Linked DNA regions of Homo sapiens: regions 2, 3, 4, 5, 6 and 7 are each linked to region 1. The links are contacts of gene promoters, found by promoter capture Hi-C in blood cells and fetal thymus (Javierre and others, 2016). All regions are on one chromosome and are shown on one strand. The core of a region is centred on a gene start or on the middle of the fragment in contact, and the rest is flanking DNA. Distances in the headings are between cores, read along the strand shown. Region 1 holds the start of GPR32 (G protein-coupled receptor 32). Region 2 overlaps KCNC3 (potassium voltage-gated channel subfamily C member 3). Region 3 holds the start of POLD1 (DNA polymerase delta 1, catalytic subunit). Region 4 overlaps MYH14 (myosin heavy chain 14). Region 5 overlaps LOC105372437 (a long non-coding RNA gene). Region 6 overlaps MYH14 (myosin heavy chain 14). Region 7 overlaps POLD1 (DNA polymerase delta 1, catalytic subunit).

Region 1 (2,901 bases), core at 248-2,747:
ATCTTGGCTCACTGCAGCCCCTGCCTCCCAGGTTCAAGGGACTCTCCTGCCTCAGCCTTCAGAGTAGCTGGGATTACAGGCACGCACCACCAAGCCTGGCTAATTTTTGTATTTTTAGTAGAGACAGGCTTTTGCCATGTTGGCCAGGCTGGTCTCGAACTCCTGAACTTAAGTGATCCACCAGCCTCAGCCTCCCAAAGTGCTGGGATTACAGGAATGAGCCACTACGCCCATCTCACGGCTAATTTTTAAATTTTATTTTATTTTTATTTTTTTGAGACGGAGTTTCGCTCTCGTTACCCAGGCTGGAGTGCAGTGGCGCGATCTTGATTCACTGCAACCTCCGCCTCCCAAGTTTAAGTGATTCTTCAGCCTCATGAGTAGCTGGGATTACAGGTGGCTGCCACCACACCCAGCTAATGTTTTTTGTATTTTTAGTAGAGACGGGGTTTCGCCATGCTGGGCAGGCTGATCTCGAACTCCTGACCTCAGGTGATCCGCCTACCTCAGCCTCCCAAAGTGCTGGGATTACAGGCGTGAGCCACTGTGCATGGCCACAAAAACTTGTAATTATTTATTTTTTGTAGAGACGGTCTCACTATGTTGCCCACCTTGGTTTGGAACTCCTGGCTTCAAGCAATCCTTCTGCCTCAGCCTCCCAAAGTGTTGTGATTACAAGCATGAGCCACCACACCTGGCCCCTCCATTTCATTTATTATTTTTCCATAACACTTGTAGTCTTCTAAAGCAGTATATCATGAAGTAAATTTATTATATGTATTACACCTGACATCTCTCACTGGGATGTAAGTTCCATGAGGGCTTGTTTTGTTACACGAGTTATGTCCAGTACTTAGAACAATATTATAGTGTCCAGTGAGCCGAGATCGTGCCATTGCACTGCAGCCTGGGTGACATAAGGAGACTCTGTCTCAAAAAAAAAAAAAAAAAAAGAACAATATTATTGTGTCATAAAAAGCATTCAGGCTGGGCTCAATGGCTCACACTTGTAATCCCAGCACTTTGGGAGGCTGAGGTGGGAGGATCACTTGAAGCCAGGAGTTCAAGACCAGCCTGGGCAACACAGCAAAACCCCATCTCTACAAAAAAGAATTTAAGGCCTGGCAGAGTGGCTCACACCTATAATCCCAGCACTTTGGGAGGCTGGTGGACGGGTCACGAGGTCAGTAGTTCAAGACCAGCCTGGCCAACATGGTAAAACCCTGTCTCTACTAAAAACAGAAAAATTAGCCAGGTGTGGTGGCATGTGCCTGTAGTTCCAGCTACTTGGGAGGCTGAGGCAGGAAAATTGCTTGAACCTTGGAGGTGGAGGTTGCAGTGAGCCGAGATCATACCATTGCACTACAGCCTGGGTGACAGAGAGAGCAAGACTCTGTGTCAAAAAAAAAAAAAAAAAAAAAAGGTAAAAAAATTAGCCAGGCATGGTGGTAAGTGCCTGTAGTCCCAGCTACTCCAGGAGGCTGAGGGGGGAGGATCTCTTGAGCCTAGGAGGTGGAGGCTGCAGTGATCTGTGATTGTACCTTTGCACTCCAGCCTGGGTGACAGAGCATGACGCTGTCTCTAAAAGAATAATAATAATAAGCATTCCATAAAAATTATGGAATGGAGAAATCATGAATGGGGTCTCGGAGGGGACCAGAGGCTGCAGTGACAGGCAACCTGGGGTCCTGACACGTGATCGCTCTTGTTCCAGGAAGATGAACTCTTCCGGATGCCTGTCTGAGGAGGTGGGGTCCCTCCGCCCACTGACTGTGGTTATCCTGTCTGCGTCCATTGTCGTCGGAGTGCTGGGCAATGGGCTGGTGCTGTGGATGACTGTCTTCCGTATGGCACGCACGGTCTCCACCGTCTGCTTCTTCCACCTGGCCCTTGCCGATTTCATGCTCTCACTGTCTCTGCCCATTGCCATGTACTATATTGTCTCCAGGCAGTGGCTCCTCGGAGAGTGGGCCTGCAAACTCTACATCACCTTTGTGTTCCTCAGCTACTTTGCCAGTAACTGCCTCCTTGTCTTCATCTCTGTGGACCGTTGCATCTCTGTCCTCTACCCCGTCTGGGCCCTGAACCACCGCACTGTGCAGCGGGCGAGCTGGCTGGCCTTTGGGGTGTGGCTCCTGGCCGCCGCCTTGTGCTCTGCGCACCTGAAATTCCGGACAACCAGAAAATGGAATGGCTGTACGCACTGCTACTTGGCGTTCAACTCTGACAATGAGACTGCCCAGATTTGGATTGAAGGGGTCGTGGAGGGACACATTATAGGGACCATTGGCCACTTCCTGCTGGGCTTCCTGGGGCCCTTAGCAATCATAGGCACCTGCGCCCACCTCATCCGGGCCAAGCTCTTGCGGGAGGGCTGGGTCCATGCCAACCGGCCCAAGAGGCTGCTGCTGGTGCTGGTGAGCGCTTTCTTTATCTTCTGGTCCCCGTTTAACGTGGTGCTGTTGGTCCATCTGTGGCGACGGGTGATGCTCAAGGAAATCTACCACCCCCGGATGCTGCTCATCCTCCAGGCTAGCTTTGCCTTGGGCTGTGTCAACAGCAGCCTCAACCCCTTCCTCTACGTCTTCGTTGGCAGAGATTTCCAAGAAAAGTTTTTCCAGTCTTTGACTTCTGCCCTGGCGAGGGCGTTTGGAGAGGAGGAGTTTCTGTCATCCTGTCCCCGTGGCAACGCCCCCCGGGAATGATGGAAGACTTCAGCTGGAAGCTGGAAGCCGTCCTTCTTAGTTTGCTTGTGGCCTCTTACCTTGACTGGCTTCTAAAACCCTGCCAAATCCTGCCTCTTCTTTCAGGAAGTCTTCCAGCAACCCCTCATCTAAAGCTCTGTGGTAGAGACAGCTACTTACTCCCCAGTGTCCATTCTTCCCCGCCCCCCCCCCCTTT
Region 2 (2,700 bases), core at 172-2,671, 450 kb before region 1:
CTTGGCCTCCCAAAGTGCTGGGGTTATAGGCGGCAGCCACTGTGCCCAGCCAGACCTCTTTAACTGAAGTGGCCAGAGTAATAGTCTTGTTCTTTTATCTTTATCTTAATTGCTTCTTTTCTTCTTCTTCTTCTTCTTCTTTTTTTTGAGAGGGAGTCTCACTCTATTTGTAGCCCAGGCTGGAGTGCAGTGGTGTGATCTTGGCTCACTGCAACCTCCACCTCCCGGGTTCAAGTGATTCTCCTACCCCAGCCTCCCAAGTAGCTGGGACTACAGGTGCCCACCACCACGCATGGCTAATTTTTGTATTTTTAGTAGAGATGGGGTTTCACCATGTTGGCCAGGCTGGTCTCGAACTCCTGACCTCAAGTGATCCACTGTCCTCGGCCTCCCAAAGTGCTGGGATTACAGATGTGAGCCACCCCCGCCGCCCAGCCTTAATTGCTTATTTTCTGCTTCTTCCTATGAGCGGCTGGAAACTTTTCCTGTAAAAGGCCAGATAGTAAATCTCTTTGGCTATAGGGGCTGTATAGTCTTTGTCCCAATTATTCCACTCTGCTGTCGTGGCTTAACATGGTTGTGTTCCAATAAAGCTTTGTTTACAAAAACAGATGCTGAAAGATCAGGCCCTCAGGCTGGAGTTAGTTTGCGGACCCCTTACAATCTGGAGACTGTAAACCGTGATGGCAGATTCACGCTTTGTTTTATCCCAAATTTGTAGTGCCTGCAACTGTGTTCTCAAGAATCAGTTGTGGCCATGGGTGGTGGCTCATGCCTGTAATCTTAGCACTTCGGGAGGCCAAGGCAGGAGGACTGCTTGAGCCCAGGAGTTCAAGACCAACCTGGCCAACATAGCGAGACCCCAACACTTGAATCCAGGAGGCGGAGGTTGCAGTGAGCCGAGATTGCACCATTGCACTCCAGCCCAGGTGACATAGCAAGACAGTCTCAAAAAAAAAAAAAAAAAAAAAAAGAATCAGTTGCTGAAACAGTGAATGAATGGATTGAATACATGAATGAAAGGAGCTAGGAGTTGGCTTGGATTGTTACAAGGATTAAAGAATATATGTTAAATTCCTAGCATGTGGTAGGTACTTGGTGATATTTGCTGAATGATTCGTCTACTAAATAGCACCACTGTCTTATCCCCCTCACTTCTGCATGGCCGGCAGCCCCCAGTCTGTCCCTTCTGATCCCTGACCCCGACTCTCTCGGCCTCGTCCCTTCCTCTCCATCCTCACAGCCCTGGCCCCAGCTCACGCTTCCACCTGTCACCTCAGCCTCCTAACTTCCAGCCTCCCACCTCCAGTCCATCCTCACAAGACCCCAGAGCTGCCCCTCCCAGCTCACCTGCCTCCTCCCCAAGCCCCTAGACAAGGTGGCAGCCTCTCAGCCCGGTGCCTGCCTCATATCTACCTGAGAATCCTCCCTCCACAGTCTAGTCTCCTAAGCTCTGTCCTGCGGTTCCCTTCAACCGTTCCTGTCGATGGGATTTCTTCCTCTGCGTGTGGTCAGAACTCCTGCTCAACCTTAAGGCCCCACTGCAGATATCGAGTCTTCCCTGATGCCCGGCCCCATCCCCTGGGAGTTTCTAGTGTTCCTCTCACTGTCTGTGCTCCCTCCATTTTAGCATACATCGCCTCAAACCATGACTTTCTAGGTCCGTGTCTGCCTCCTGCTCCAAAGCGGAAGCTCCTGGGGGCATGGTTTTTGTTCACGGTTGAACTCCCCATGCCCAGTACCTGGGATGCGTGGGTGCTGTCTAAGCGCTGGCTGAATTCACAGGGGCATGGACGGATGGCTGAGCCTTTCTCTCCCCATTCTGCACCCAGAAGTGTTCTGGGTATGCCCTCCGTTTTCCTGATTGAATTTTTAAAAAAAACCCTAGGACCAAGGAGGGAGGCAGAGATGTTGATGGGGGTGAGGATGGGGTCGGTCGTGAGGGCAGGTGCAGTGTGGGAGGCAGGGTTGAGTTAGTTCGGGGGTTAGTGAGGAGCAGGGTGAGTCCTGGGTAGGTGGGTGTGGGGTCAGTGTCAGGAGCTGGGGGTTAACTGGGTGCAGCTGCTTGCAGTGAGGGGGCCGAAGTCTCGGTCAGTGGGGGCTGCATGTTCTCAGAAGGGTTAGTCAGGCAGGAGTGGGGAGTCTGGGGGTCCGGGGGATCAGAGGGTGGGGGCTACTTACCCCGGGGGGAGGGGGTTCGTCCACTAGGGGGATATCCAGGCCGCGGCGTTGGCGTTGAGGTCGGGCAAGAAGCTTGGGGGGCCTGGCTTACGCCAGTCTTGGGGGGGCAGTGGGGGAGCACCAGTGGCTGGGGGTGGGGGAAGAGGCCAGAGAGTTGGGGGGAATGGACATGGAATAAAGACAGGTGAAGGGTCAGTGGTGAGGAAACTTGGGGCGGGGGTACAGGGAAGATCTGGGAGGGAGGCAGTTTGGGGCCAAGGGAAGGGGGAAGGGAAGTCCACCGCCTCCTCCCCCATCCCCCTCTCCTCCCTCCCCTGGGCAGGGGAGAGAGAGGGAGGGTCCCAGGGGATCAGTAGGGGGGGCACCTCACCTTTTCGGATGGAGCCATCAGGGGAAGGGGCATAGTCGGTGAGGAGGAAGCAGGCTCGGTCCCGGCTATAGCGGCCACGGCTTCCAGGCGTGATGGGGCTCTTGTCTTCCGGGGACATGGCAGGCTGGTCAATGGCTGGGCAGTCCTCG
Region 3 (2,700 bases), core at 91-2,590, 390 kb before region 1:
TCCAGCCCGGAGCTGGAGTGCAAGATGGAGAGGGCGCGGGCTTCTAGGGACCTCAGTGACACTGGGTGCCCGAACCTGATTGAGCAGGTGGGACTGGGTGTCCCCAGGCTGTTGGGAAAAGGGTGGCACATAGGGTCCCAGTGTTGGGTGGTGTGTCGCCTGCTGTGAAAGTTCAGGACAGAGGCCTCAGCCTCAGGGTCACCTCCCTGGACAAGGTGAATCAGAACTCACCCTTGAAGGATAAACAGGATTTAAGTGAATGAGGGGACCTGGACTTCTGTCCGAACAACAAGTGTTTGCTGAGGCCTCCTGTGGGCCAGGCACTGGGTTGGCCATTCTAGAGATGGAGACATTCACCCAATAAATGTTTCCAGAGCATTAACTACAGTTAGGCACAATTCTAGGCACTGGAAACATCTGTGAACAAGATAACCATCCTCCTACCAAGACTCGGGGGATAGGGACTTTAATGAGCGTGGCACTGTGGTGGGGCTAGAGGAAATCAGGGAAGGTATCACAACAGAGGCAATCGCTGGGACCTAAAACAAGAGCCTGGGGGCTGGGCCTCCAAGTTGAGGGAACAGCACGTGCAAAGTTTGAAAGGAGAGACGCCAGGAGTTCGGAGCGAAGCGACGAAGTTCCTCCAATCCTTCCTGCCCCTGTGCCAGCCCTGAAGGAGCTGAATGAGCAATTCCAATCGAGGGCGAAAGGGGGGTTGGATGGAGGGATGCAACTTAAAGGTGTATTTATTTGGGGCGGGGAACAGCGGAAGTGAGAGTAGTTACCAATGATCACCTTATCCTAAGAGTAGTGTACCGGGCGCCCCACAAGTGTCCCTATCATGCGTTGTTGAGTCTAATTTACGTATAGGGAAACTGAAGCTAGGATGAAGGAGAACAGATCAAGCCAGGACTCTACCGCTTATCGGCCAGCCTCTGCGGGGATCTTGGGCGTCAGGTCACCAGCTGGCTGCTGGGCAGCGACGGGGCAGCGCTCCCTACACGGCCCCGGGCGAGAGGCGGGCGGGGGGACGCGGAGGATGCGCGCGCAACACCCGAGGGTGGGAGGAGAGAGAACAGAACCGCGGCGCGCCCAGACCGCACGAGGTCGTGAAGGTAGCCGCGCGGAGGGGCGTGGCTTCGGGCAGACAGGTCATGGGGAGGCGGAGTTAAGGGAATTTTTCAGCAAGGGGGCGAGGCCACTTCGGAAGCTGAGAGAGGGGGCGGGGCCTGCCCTGCAGTCGAACAAGCGGGGCGTGGCCTTGCCCGCACTTGGGCAGGCGGGGGCGTGGCCCGTCTCTGAGCGCCGCGGCTCTGGGCTTGCGCGCGCGGGAGTCAGGGGTCACGGCGGCGTAGGCTGTGGCGGGAAACGCTGTTTGAAGCGGGTGAGTAGAGGGGAAAAAGGGAGTTCGGGGCAGTGGGCCTGGTAGGGAACGGGGCTTGAGCAGCCAGGCACATAGATCTGAGAGACGGTTGCGAGGGCACCCTTTGGCCCGGGGGCGCGCAGGAGAGGGCAGGGGCCAGGGGTTTCCTGGGCGAGGGCGCGGGGACGAGCAGGAAAAGGCCGGGGTGGGGGTGGAATTCCTCGGCGGGCAGGGGGCGCATGCGCCGGGCACCGTGGGGCGGGACGTGGCCCGGGAGGAGCTGGGGGGACTGGGTGGTGCACGTGCGGGCTTGGTGTCATCCTGGATTCGCTGGGTGTTTGAGTACTCTGTGCCAGGCACTTTTCTGGAAGCAGGAACAAGTCAGAGAAGTCCCTGTCTCGGGAAGACAGACGGTAGACAAGTGATGAGTTTTAATAGATCAGTAAAGCAGTGCTCTGGGGCTGTGAGATGCTCTCAGAAGGAAACTAACGCAGGGTAACGTGATAATGAGCGAAGAGCCTGTTGCTTTAGCTGGAGTGGTCCAGAATCGACCGCTCTGGGACCCTCAAGTGCAAAGCCCTGAGGTGGAAGGAGCTTGGCGTATTTGTAGCAGGAGCCGAGGGGACGAGAGAAACACAGATGAGGTCGGAGTCATGATGGGGAACTAGATCCTATAGGGCCTTGTAAAACTTGGTATGGAATTTCTCCTTTATTCTAGGTTCAGCGGGGAGCCGTGGGAGGGTTTGAGCGTGGAAACAACACGATTCGCCCCATGTTTTGAAAAACTCACCACTGAGTGGAAATTGGATTGTAGCAGGAATAAGAATGGAAGGAGGGAGATCTGTTAGGAGGGAGAGCGTCCTGCAGGCAGAGAATCAGGCTCCGGTTACCTTTGCGGGCGGAGACAGGGGGACTGGCTGATGGACTGGGCGTAGGAGCAAGGGGAAGAGTCCAGGATGACTCCTGGGTTTGTGGTTTGAGCAGCAGGCTGGATGGGGAAGGCTAAGGGAGAAGCAGGTTGGGGTTGCCGCTCTGAAGGCAAAGATTAGTGGGGGAGTGAGTGGGCAGGGTTTAGAGCGGAGCCAGGAGTGGGCAGGGCGATGTCAGTGCCTCGCCTCAGCCCTTCCACTGAAGGAACTTGTTGCCACTGTCTTCTCTTTTTTTTTTTTTTTTTTTTGAGACAGAGTCTTGCTCTGTCACCCAGGCTGGAATGCAGTGGTGCAAACTCAGCTCATTGCAACCTCCGCCTCCCGAGTTCAGGCGAGTCTCGTGCCTCAGCCTCCTGAGTAGCTGGGATTACGGCACCCACTGCCATGCCCAGCTCATTTTTTGTATTT
Region 4 (2,700 bases), core at 26-2,525, 490 kb before region 1:
CCCAGCACTTTGGGAGGCCAAGGCAGGCAGATCACCTGAGGTTGGGAGTTTGAGACCAGCCTGACCAACATGGAGAAACCCCGTCTCTACTAAAAATACAAAATTAGGTAGGCATGGTGGTGCATGCCTGTAATCCCAGCTACTTGGGAGGCTGAGGCAGGAGAATCGCTTGAATCTGGGAGGCGGAGGTTGTGGTGAGCCGAGATCATGCCATTGCACTCCAGCCTGGGCAACAAGAGTGAAACTCTGTCTCAAAAAAACAAAACAAAAAACAAAAAAAAAACAAAAAAAAAGAAAGAAGTTATTTATGTATTCTAAATGCAAGTTCTTTATCAGATATATGCTTTGCAAATATTTTTGTCCAGTCTGTGGCTTTTCTTTCCATTCTGTTAGAGTCTTTCAAAGAACAGAAGTTTTTAATTTTGTCCAATTTATCAATTTGTTGTTTTATAGATTGTGCTTTTAGTATTGTATATAAGAAATTTTTGCCTAACTCAAGGTCACAAAGGTTTTATCCTGGTTTTTTTCTTGTTTTCTTTTTGTTTGTTTGTTTGTTTTGTTTTTTGAGACGGAGTCTTGCACTGTTGCCCGGGCTGGAGTGCAGTGGCATGATCTTGGCTTACTGCAACCTCTGCCTCCTGGGGTCAAGCGATTCCTCCTGTCTCAGCCTACCAAGTAGCTGGGATTACAGGCACATGCCGCCACACCCGGCTAATTTTTTTATTTTTATTTTTTTTTTATTTTTTATTTTTAGTAAAGACAGGGTTTCACTATGTTGGCCAGGCTAGTCTCAAACTCCTGACCTTGTGATCCACCTGCCTCGGCCTCCCAAAGCACTGGGATTACAGGCATGAGCCACTGCACCCGGCCTATCCTGTTTTTTTTTTCTGGAAGTCTTCCAGTTTCAAGTTTACATTTAGGTCTGTGATTTATTCTGAGTTAATTTTTACATATGATGCTATCATGGCTCCATGTTAATTTTTGTGAATATAAATATCCAAGTATTCCAACACTGCTCTCCACTGACTTGTTTTTGCATATCTATTGAAAGTCATTTTTCTTCTTCTTCTTCTCCTCCTTCTTTTTCTTCTTCTTCTTCTTTTTTTTTTTTTTTTTGCCCAGGCTGGAGTGCAGTGGCGTGATCTTGGCTTGCTGCAACTTCTGCTTCCCGGGTTCAAGCAATTCTCCCACCTCAGCCTCCCGAGTGGCTTGGATTACAGGTGTGCGCCACCACACCTGGCTAATTTTTGTATTTTTAGTAGAGATGGGGTTTCACCATGTTGGCCAGGTGGTCTTGAACTCCTGACTTCAGGCGATCTGCCTGCCTCAGCCTCCCAATATGCTGGAATTACAAGCATAAGCCACTGCACCAGCCTTTTCTTCTTATTTGAAGTTATTTTGCCTCTTCTAGTTCCTTTGCATTTCCGTATGTATTTTAGAATCAGTTTGTCAATTTCTACCCCAAAACAAAAAGCCTTCCAATTTGGAACTGTGTTGAATCTATACAACGGTTTTGGAAGAACTGACATCATAACAATATTGAGTTTTCTCACCGAGGAAGAGGGTATATACGTCCATTGAAATACCTTAGAAATGTTTTTTAGTTTTCAATGTACATCTTTCACATCTGCTGCCAGATGTATTTCTAAGTATTTCATGGTTTTATGGCTATTTTAAGTGATGTTGCTTTCATTTCCATTTTTGATTGCTAGTATATAGAAACAATAGATTTTTGTATATTGATCTTGTATCCTACAATCTTGGCTAAACTCACTTACTAGTGCTAATATAGTTTTTATATATTTCATTGGATTTTCTACATAGATGATCATGTTTTCTGTGAACAAAGGCAGTTTTACTTCTTTCTTTACCTTTTCTTTACCCTTCTAGGACTCCAAATGCTTGTATGTATGACTGCTTGGTACTTTTTTCAGGTTGTTAAAGTTCCATTAATTTCTGTTACAATCTTCTTTCTTTTTCTTTCTTTGCTCTGTTTGGATAATTTATATTGACCTGCTTTCAAGTTTACTGATTCTCCTGATGTGTCCAGTCTGCTACTAATTTCATCCAGTGACTTTTTTATTTCAGATATTTCATTTTTCAGTTCTGGCATTTCTATGTGGTTCTATTTTACAGTTTCAAATCCCTCCTCAAATAACTGCCTCTTCACCCATTGTATCTGTCTCGTTCTGAAACTTATCATGAAGTCCTTGTGTGCACGTTCTAATATGTAGGTCATCTGTGGGTCTATTTGTATGGACTGATTTTTCTCTTAACTATGAGTTCTGTTCTCTTTTCTTTTTTGCATGTTTTATAAGTTTATTTGCCAATTACTGTGTCTTAAAAAAAAACAGTAAAGGTTGAAGTACATTTAAAAATATATATATGTGTATTTTTTCTACTGCCACTCTTAAGAGGAAGGAATGCCCTTTCTTCTGTTGAACATATAGAGTTAGGGACTGATCAGTTTGATCCATTCAAGAGTTAAGCTGGTTTGGGACACGGTTGCAACTTTAATCCCTCTACCTCCCTCTTGTGTCTCTGCCTTTGTCTGTCTCTTTCTCTCTCTTTCTCTGTTCCTGGCTGCTCCCTCTTCCCGTTCCCTTGTACACTCCTTTCAGCTAATCTATTTCCCCCTACCCCATCTCCCTCAAACTGGAAGCTTCTGGCAGAGGAGAAGGCAGCTGTACTTCGGGCAGT
Region 5 (2,700 bases), core at 15-2,514, 430 kb before region 1:
TGTGCCTGTATCCAGGATGGCAGCACAGCCCTGGGCACAGAGAGTCAGCCGTGAGCCCACCTTCACACTGAGGGGGAAGGAAGCAGTCATTAGAGGCAGGGTCCTAGGAGTCCAGGCCTCCAGCTCCAGACCCAGGAGACCAAGTCCCTCACCGCTCCATGTGGATCTGCCAGTAGGCGGGGACTGTGACTGGCACGAAGGTGAGGGGTGGGATGTAGTGTGCCGGGTCTGAGCCCCCCAGGACCAGCTCTCCTCCATCAGCCACTTCAGGGTCCCTGCAGGGGCAGAGTGTAGAGGTCATTGTCGCCAGCCCTCCCCCGCCAGCCCTAGGAATGGCCAGGGATGGGACTTCCTGCCAATTGGGTCATTTTTGGGGTTCTAGTTGGGGCAGTGGAATGCAGGCAGGGCCGAGATGTTGGGACTGGAAACAAGAAATGAAGGGAAATGGTGCTTTTCTTGATGGAAGTTAGGACTTTAGGATGATGGATACTTCCTGAAGTGGAGAGGAGACTTCTTCATTTGGCTGTGGAAGGTAGAGCTTTTGGGGGAAATTCCTGAGCTGAATATCATAGTAACCAAGCAGACCAGTGGAGTCTCAGAATTGGCTCGAAGGTGTGACTTGTACAGGAGTGGGGTGGCTTCCTGGGAAGGTGCATAGACTTTCTGAATTGCCTGTTGTGGTATCTAGAAAGGTGTTAGACTTCCTGAGCTGGCTGAGAGTGATGGGAACGGGGATGGAAACTTCCTGGAAGATGTAAATGAGTGGGACCTACCGAGAGCTAGGTGGAACTTCTTGAGTGGGTTGGATGTCAGGGTAACTGAGTGGGCATTGGACTGTGTGTGATGGGCCCTGGGAGGGAAAGTGAAGACTTCTCGGGTGGTGGGTGGGACTTCTGAGCATAAGATTGACCTTCCTACCAGGTGGGTGGGGCTTCGTGAATTCAATCAGGCATTTCCTGACTTCTGGTCAGTGTTCTCAAATGGGATTTGAGCTTTATGGTGAAGAGAAGGTTCCTGAGTATTTGGTTGGGTGGGGCATAGAATTTCCTAGTTTGATTTTGAAACTCAGCATATTGAACTGTTGGTGAGTTTCTTTAATATGTCTTAAGTTGTCACTTAAGCTCTGGGGCTTATGAATAGGGTTGAGGTGTTTCTTCTGTTAGGTAGGTGGCTACTTCCTGAATGAAGGGTGGGATTGATTTTTTTTTTTTTTTTTTTTTTTTGGAGACGGTCTCTCTCTGTCACCCAGACTGGAGAGCAGTGGTGCGATCTCGGCTCACTGCAACCTCCACCTCCCGGATTCAAGCAATTCTCCTGCCTCAGCCTCTCAAGTAGCTGGGATTACAGGCATGTGCCACCGCACCCAGCTAATTTTTATAGTTTTAGTACAGATGGGGTTTCACCATGTTAGCCAGGCTGGTCTGGAACTCTTGACTTCAGGTGATCAATCTGCCTCAGCCTCCCAAATTGCTGGGATTACGGGCATGAGCCACCGTGCCTGAACTGGGACTTTCTTTATGGAGTAAGAGACTTCCTGAAGGAGGGCCTCACTTCCTTCTGAGGAATAGGACTCATAGATAGGTGCACCCTCCCCAGCACCTGTTGAAGTAAAAGGAGAAGACAGGCTTATCCAATAGCCCCTGCTCCACCAGTACATCCAGCGGGGGCCGAACTCCTTCCACAGACAGAATGGGAAAACCGAGGCCCAATATCCCATCGGGGCGGGAAACAGTGAAGACCAGGCTGGATTCCCACAGAGCTTCCCCGAAAATCACGGATGCACCCTTGATTCCACCAATCTAGGGGTAGATTGAGATGTGACCAGTTACTTTTGGGAGGACAATAACCACATGTCCTGAGGTCTCCCAAACCAAAGCATTAATCCCAGGTCTGGGGACATCTGGACCCAAGCCCCCAACTGCTTAGCAAACTTTGCCTCTGGACTTGAGAGAATTCCTATCCCTTCACCCAGGAACCCCTCCCCCTCCTTGAGAAGCCCCATCCATCGGCTCAGGAAGCCCCTGCACCTCAAGCCCCTCCCTAAGCCAGATGATCTTAGACAACAGGGTTCTCCCAGGCTCGAGGCTTCCTGGAGTCAAAGGCCACTCACAGTCAGCTTGTCCTCACTCAGGATTCCATCTACCCGCCCAGTTCCATACTGAATGGCAAACTTGGTCCCACTGGGCTTGAAGGAGCTGGAGGCATTGGGATTGAAGCGGTGGTGGAACCCTAGGTCAGAAGTCAGAGAGGTGTCACTGTGGGAGGGGAGCTTTCCGAATGCCTTCTGCCCCTTTAACCTTCTGACCTTTGAGGGTGTCAGAAAAGAACAGTTCCTCAAAAACCTTTGGGAAGCTGAGGCCCAGCCCCGCCTTCTCCCTTCACCCCCATTCAGCCTTATTCTCCCACATAGAAGCTCACAGCAGGGCACACTGAAGAAGTGGCATCTCCTGGACGGGACCCAGAGATTGGAGGAGCCAGTGTCAAAGGCAACAGTGAAGTTTTGTGGAGGCGTTCCCAGCCCAATTTCCCCAAAATACTGGGCCTGAGGAGGCAAAAGAAGAGACAGAGTCAATGAAGAGTTTGGCTCAAGGGCACAGGAGTGGGGGCTGTGTAGGGCTGTGACTCACATCCAGGAATTTGGAGAGAGGTACCGAGGCAGGCTTGTCCCCAGGGGATGGGGCCCCCAACTTGGGGAGCTCT
Region 6 (2,862 bases), core at 294-2,793, 510 kb before region 1:
ACCGTTTGGCGCCCCCGTGTGGCCGCCGCTGACCCCCGCGTGTCCGTCCGCTCTCCCCAGGCCGGGAAGCTGGAGCCACGGCTGGTGCTGGACCAGCTTCGCTGCAACGGGGTCCTGGAGGGCATCCGCATCTGTCGCCAGGGCTTCCCCAACCGCATCCTCTTCCAGGAGTTCCGGCAGCGGTGAGCTAGAGCGAGGGCCCAGGCCCGGCGGAGGGGCTGGGTGGGACCCGGGTCTGGAAGCCGACACACCTGCATTCAGGTCTCCACCCACTCTTGTTCCTTCTGCGCTGGGGAAGTTGAGGCAGATTACTCACTTTGCTGAGCCTCAGTTTACTCGTCTGTGTATGGGAGAACAATAGCCCACTTGATGCACTCCTGAGAGAAAGCACACAGAGTCTATGGGGATCTGGGGTACATTGCTGCTGCTGTTTAGGGCAGTAGGCCCCAAACTATGAACGTGAAATCACTGCATGGTGTTACAAATCTGCATGTCTTTAAAAATGAAGTAGAAGGCGGGGCGCGGTGGCTCACGCCTGTAATCCCAGCACTTTGGGAGGCCGAGGCAGACAGATCACCTGAGGTCGGAAGTTCGAGACCAGCCTGACCAACGTGGAGAAACCCCATCTCTACTAAAAATACAAAATTAGCCGGGTGTGGTAGCACATGCCTGTAATCCCAGCTACTCGGGAGGCTGAGGCAGGAGAATCACTTGAACCGGGAAGGGGGAGGTTGCAGTGAGCCGAGATTGCGCCATTGCACTCCAGCCTGGGCAACAAGAGCAAAACTCTGTCTCAAAAAAATAAATAAGTAAATAAAGAAGTAGAATAGGACAGAATAGAAAATACCAAGGCCTAATGAGCAAGTAATACAGCAAATGTAACAAAAATGATGCTTCACACAAGCTGTGTAGAGCAGCACCGTCCCTTAGAAGTAGAATGGGAAGCCTTGTACACAATTGAACATTTTCTAATAGCTACACTTTTACAAGTGAAAAAAATGAAATTAATTTTAACAAGATATTTTACTAAAGCCAATACATCCAAAATACTGGCCAATACTGGCTGGGCACTGTGGCTCATGCCTGTAACCCCAGCACTTTGGGAGGCCGAGGCGGGTGGATCACTTCAGGTCAGGAGTTCAAGACAGCCTGGCCATCATGGAGAAACCCCATCTCTACTAAAAATACAAAAATTAGCTGGGCATGGTGGCACATGCCTGAATCCCAGCTACCTGGTAGGCTGAGGCAAGAGAATCGCTTGAACCTGGGAGGCGGAGGTCGCAGTGAGGCAAGATCTGACCACTGCACTCCAGCCTGGGCGACAGAGCGAGACTCTGTCTCAAAAAACAAACAAAACAAAAAACTGAAACAGTCGATCATTGTCGATGTTGCTGTCCTTGGTGGTGGCGTGAATGCTCAGATGTGAGTTTTGTGACTGTCCTTGTTATTGTCACTGTTGTTCCTGCTGTGTGTCACTCTGAGCCCAGTGCCTGGCCCGCAGCAGGCACTAGGTGAGCGTTTGCTGTAACTCTCTCCTCCCCACCCCTCCCTGCTCATTGCAGATACGAGATCCTGACACCCAATGCCATCCCCAAGGGCTTCATGGATGGGAAGCAGGCCTGTGAAAAGATGGTGAGTGGGGCAGAGCCTGGAATGCGTGTGTGCGTGTGTGTGTGTGCGTGCATGAGTGTGCGTGCATGTGTGTGTGCATGCATATGTGTGCATGCGTGTGTGTGCAAGTGTGTGTGCATGCACGTGTGTGCGTGTGTGTGTGCATGCATATGTGTGCATGCGTGTGTGTGCATGTGTGTGTGTGCATGCGTTTGTGTGCAGGGGCCCAGGTGGTCGGGGAGTGGGGCTGGGATCTCCCCTTCATTGACCTTCCTCATTACCTCTCCCTATCACCGCCCCCACCCCCGCTTCCTCATCATCCCCTATCACCCCCCTCCCCGTCACCCCATCACCCCCTCCCCATCACCACTCCCCCATCGCCCCCTCCCTATAACTCTTCTCCCCTATCACCCTCCTCCACATCACCCCCTCCCCCATCACCCCCTCTCCCCAATCACCACCCCCTCCCAATCACTGCCCCTCCTCACCACCCCCCCATCATCCCCTGCCCCATCACCCCCTTCCTATAACTCCCCTCCCCTATCACTCTTCACATCACCCCCTCCCCTATCACTCTCCTCATCACCCCCTCCCCATCACTTCTCCCCCATCACCTCCCTCCCCCATCACCCCCTCCCCCATTACCCCCTCTCCCCAATCACCACCCCTTCCCTATCACTCCCCCTCCTCGCCACCCCCTCCCCCATTACTCCCCCTCCTCACCACCCCCACTCCCCCATCACCCCCTCTCCGTCATCACCCCTCTCCCACCCCTCACAGATCCAGGCGCTGGAACTGGACCCCAACCTCTACCGCGTGGGACAGAGCAAGATCTTCTTCCGGGCTGGGGTCCTGGCCCAGCTGGAAGAGGAGCGAGACCTGAAGGTCACCGACATCATCGTCTCCTTCCAGGCAGCTGCCCGGGGATACCTGGCTCGCAGGTGGGCAGCCACGCTGTCTCCCGGGGTCCTGTTGGCCGAGACTGGGTCAGGGAGGGGTTGACCAGATGGCTCTAGGTGTCAGGGCCTCCAGGATGGGTGCAGGGCTGAGGAGCAGGTGGATGGAGGTGCCGGGTGTCCAGGCTTCTTGGTTCTGCAGTCCCTGAGGGGCCCTGTGGGCAGGGCAGGCCCTGTTCAGAGTAAGACTGGCAACACAGAGGCTGGACTTAGCCGCAGGGTGACCAGCTGTCCTAGTGGGCCTGGGTCTGGGTTTCCCAGGGTGCAGGACTTCCAGTGCTAAAACAGAGAAAGC
Region 7 (2,796 bases), core at 152-2,651, 360 kb before region 1:
GCCAATGAATGATTTTTTTTTTTTAAAGGGTGAGGCCACAAGACAGGGCGGGGGCGGCATGGGAACTCCTAGCCCTGACTCCCGGCCGCGGCTGCTCCCCTCCCAGGTACTACGACGTCCCCATCGCCACCCTGGACTTCTCCTCGCTGTACCCGTCCATCATGATGGCCCACAACCTGTGTTACACCACGCTCCTTCGGCCCGGGACTGCACAGAAACTGGGGTATAGTGCCCAATTCAGCATGTGTCCCCCGAGGCCCATCTGGGCCTTCCCTTGGGGGGCTCAGTCTGGTGGGGGGCATAGGCACAGGCCCAGAGATAGTAGGGAGTGGAGGGGTGCTTGAGGGGCCTGCGTGTGCTCATGGCCAAGGCCAGGACCGTAGGGCAGAGGTGGGCTGGAGCAGGAGGGTGGCCGGCAGTCACCCCAACATCTTCCAACCCAGCCTGACTGAGGATCAGTTCATCAGGACCCCCACCGGGGACGAGTTTGTGAAGACCTCAGTGCGGAAGGGGCTGCTGCCCCAGATCCTGGAGAACCTGCTCAGTGCCCGGAAGAGGTGAGCCCTGGAGATCGCCTGCTTGGAGCTCAGACCTGTTGGGGCCTCTGGGCAATCCCTGTCCCTCACTGGGACACCCCAGGGCTGCCCAGCCACCCTGCCCTCAGCTGTGCGTGAATTAGCACAAGGCATCCCCTCCTGGCAGCTTCCTTTTGCCCCCTTGGCCAGAAGCTTCTGTGCAGTGCACAGTACGCCCAACCGTACATGGCACTCACTTCCAGAAAGGAGCCCTGACCAATGCCCAGGTGCCGCCTGAGTGTGCTTTCCCCGTGTTCCCTCGCAGGGCCAAGGCCGAGCTGGCCAAGGAGACAGACCCCCTCCGGCGCCAGGTCCTGGATGGACGGCAGCTGGCGCTGAAGGTGAGCGCCAACTCCGTATACGGCTTCACTGGCGCCCAGGTGGGCAAGTTGCCGTGCCTGGAGATCTCACAGGTGGGCACTCGGGCCCCTGGAAGGCAACTGGGGGCAGGTGGGCCCCCTGTGTAGGAGACCAGGGCTCCATGTGGGGGACCTGTATCCAGAGGACTGGGCACCCCAACTCACTGGCCTTCTAGAGAGAGGATGCCAATGTGGCTTGAGCAATTGGTCCATTCCTTCACTCAGCAAATGCCTACTGAGCACACACTGTGGTCAGGGCTCACTCTGTGCCCTGGGGATACAGAGGGGAACAAAATGGATGAGAGCTCCTGTCCCTGTCATCTTGCAGCCCAGTGGGGACACTGACAGGTCTGTGTAAACGTGTTTAGGACACAAGTGGCGCTACGAGCTTTGCAGCCGGATAAAGCAGGAGGTGCGGACTGTCGGGGAGTGATGGGGCTGGGCGGGACTCACCCCTCTCAATAGGCGACGCTCACACAGAGGCCAAGGGACGTGGGGAGGGAAGCCATTCACCGTCCCCACGGCAGCGTCCCGGTCTGCCTACCCACGGCAGCTCTGCTGCTTGAACAGAAAAACAGATTCTTTGAAACCACAGAGGGCCTGAGTTTCCGAGATTGCCAAGCTGGGGTCAGTGCCCCAGCTCCTGGCATATGAGGGCCTCGGAAGGGTCTTCCTGTCCAGCCTTCTCCCCTGGGACTTGAGTCTTGGCCCATTCCAGGCCAGTAGTTGTGCTGCTCTGCTTGGTTACCTCTAGCCACGGGGAGCTCCCTCTCTGGCTGGGCACTGCGCCACTTTTCACAGGGCTCTGGGTGGAAGGCTTGGATGAATTCTCAGTGGGTGGGGCCTTTGCACACACCCACCCACCCGCAGTTCTGGGGGTCCCAAAGACCACTTAGGTTCAGTGATTCACTAGAAGTACTCAGAGAGCAGAAAAGCTGGTTCTCATGGTTATGATTTAATACAGCAAAAGGACACAGATTAAACTCAGCAAAAGAAAGAGGTGCACAGGGCAGGGTATAGGAGGGACCAGGCGTGTCTTCCAGTTGTGCTCTCCCAGTAGAGTTGCCAGGCTGGCCCTCCTTCCTCCCAGTTTTGATGCGTGCCTGCACACATGCAGCATTGCCAACCAGAGGCTCTCACCCAAGCTTTGGGGTCCAGGGTTTTTCTTGGGTGTCAGTCCTATAGGCATGGAGCACCCTGTGACTGGCCTTAGTGACTCCATCATCCCCAGGCCCCTCAGCAACCCCCAGAGGTCAAACTGATACTGCATGGCCCAGGGCCCTACCATAAACCATGTTAGTGTCAACTACCTGGTGTGGTTCAAAGTCCCAGGTACACAAACACCTTTTTTTTTTTTTTTTTTGAGACAGAGTCTCACTCTCTCACCCAGGCTGGAGCGCAGTGGCACAATCGTGGCTCACTGCAGCCTCAACCTCCGGGACTCAGGTGAGCCTCCCACGTTAGCCTCCCAAGTGGCTGGGACTGCGGGCACGTGCCACCTATTTTTGTTATTTTTTGTAGAGATAGGGTCTCGCCATGTTGCCCAGGCTGGAACAGAGACACTGTTATCAGGCGGGATATTCTAGGGGCTTAGACTACCAGGAGCCAGGCAAGAGCCAGACCTTTCTTTGCACAAAGTGAATCGCTCACTGCATGCTCCCAACTCCCCTCTGCCTTTCACAGTCCCCGGCTGCCTCCCCAGCCTCCTTGGTGGAAAGGGGTGGCTGTGTGGACATCAGGCTCTAGCCCTGAAGCAGAGGCCAGGCCAAGAGAGCACAGCTTGGCCCTCCCCTGGGGCTGCCTCTTACCAATCCTGTGTCTCTGTCTTTTCTCTCTCAGCCGCTTCCCTCTGTCACTGTTCT

What was found. Contacts are between HindIII fragments. The CHiCAGO score rates a contact against its expected background, and 5 or more counts as called.
Region 2: a contact is called between a fragment that was not itself captured here and the fragment with the promoter of GPR32 in region 1, in 5 of 17 cell types (total B cells, naive B cells, total CD8 T cells and 2 more). The highest score is 10.5, in total B cells.
Region 3: the fragment with the promoter of POLD1 here is called in contact with the fragment with the promoter of GPR32 in region 1 in 7 of 17 cell types (total B cells, activated CD4 T cells, naive B cells and 4 more); the score reaches 8.5 in total B cells.
Region 4: a fragment that was not itself captured here is called in contact with the fragment with the promoter of GPR32 in region 1 in 1 of 17 cell types (naive B cells); the score reaches 5.2 in naive B cells.
Region 5: a fragment that was not itself captured here is called in contact with the fragment with the promoter of GPR32 in region 1 in 8 of 17 cell types (naive CD8 T cells, naive CD4 T cells, non-activated CD4 T cells and 5 more); the score reaches 10.0 in naive CD8 T cells.
Region 6: a fragment that was not itself captured here is called in contact with the fragment with the promoter of GPR32 in region 1 in 9 of 17 cell types (total B cells, activated CD4 T cells, naive B cells and 6 more); the score reaches 17.3 in total B cells.
Region 7: a fragment that was not itself captured here is called in contact with the fragment with the promoter of GPR32 in region 1 in 4 of 17 cell types (naive CD4 T cells, naive B cells, total B cells and 1 more); the score reaches 6.7 in naive CD4 T cells.

What each region holds. Positions count from the first base shown.
Region 1 is chr19:50,768,967-50,771,867 of GRCh38, forward strand. It overlaps GPR32 (G protein-coupled receptor 32), which reads left to right and starts at 1,498. Exons shown (of 1, transcript NM_001506.2): 1 at 1,498-2,766. The coding sequence starts at 1,635. The coding sequence ends at 2,705. The HindIII fragment of the contact is 17,473 bases long and covers 1-2,901 here.
Region 2 is chr19:50,318,042-50,320,741 of GRCh38, forward strand. KCNC3 (potassium voltage-gated channel subfamily C member 3) reads right to left here. Exons shown (of 5, transcript NM_004977.3): 3 at 2,552-2,700; 4 at 2,182-2,308. The coding sequence ends at 2,205. Among named protein-coding and RNA genes, the nearest start is that of KCNC3, 10 kb to the right of the region's middle. The HindIII fragment of the contact is 1,660 bases long and covers 592-2,251 here.
Region 3 is chr19:50,383,007-50,385,706 of GRCh38, forward strand. It overlaps POLD1 (DNA polymerase delta 1, catalytic subunit), which reads left to right and starts at 1,341. Exons shown (of 27, transcript NM_002691.4): 1 at 1,341-1,384. It overlaps NR1H2 (nuclear receptor subfamily 1 group H member 2), which reads left to right. Exons shown (of 10, transcript NM_007121.7): 10 at 1-382. RefSeq lists silencers at 1,005-1,104, 1,115-1,234, 1,265-1,354 and an enhancer at 2,074-2,575. The HindIII fragment of the contact is 22,211 bases long and covers 1-2,700 here.
Region 4 is chr19:50,283,820-50,286,519 of GRCh38, forward strand. It overlaps MYH14 (myosin heavy chain 14), which reads left to right. Exons shown (of 43, transcript NM_001145809.2): 34 at 2,663-2,700. Among named protein-coding and RNA genes, the nearest start is that of KCNC3, 44 kb to the right of the region's middle. The HindIII fragment of the contact is 2,770 bases long and covers 1-2,660 here.
Region 5 is chr19:50,334,907-50,337,606 of GRCh38, forward strand. All of the region lies in intron 1 of LOC105372437 (a long non-coding RNA gene), which reads left to right. It also overlaps the pseudogene NAPSB. Among named protein-coding and RNA genes, the nearest start is that of KCNC3, 6.9 kb to the left of the region's middle. The HindIII fragment of the contact is 4,846 bases long and covers 1-2,700 here.
Region 6 is chr19:50,259,084-50,261,945 of GRCh38, forward strand. MYH14 (myosin heavy chain 14) reads left to right here. Exons shown (of 43, transcript NM_001145809.2): 19 at 61-182; 20 at 1,563-1,632; 21 at 2,392-2,552. Among named protein-coding and RNA genes, the nearest start is that of MYH14, 57 kb to the left of the region's middle. The HindIII fragment of the contact is 3,099 bases long and covers 1-2,862 here.
Region 7 is chr19:50,408,679-50,411,474 of GRCh38, forward strand. It overlaps POLD1 (DNA polymerase delta 1, catalytic subunit), which reads left to right. Exons shown (of 27, transcript NM_002691.4): 15 at 107-223; 16 at 444-557; 17 at 841-988. Among named protein-coding and RNA genes, the nearest start is that of SPIB, 8.9 kb to the right of the region's middle. The HindIII fragment of the contact is 1,351 bases long and covers 727-2,077 here.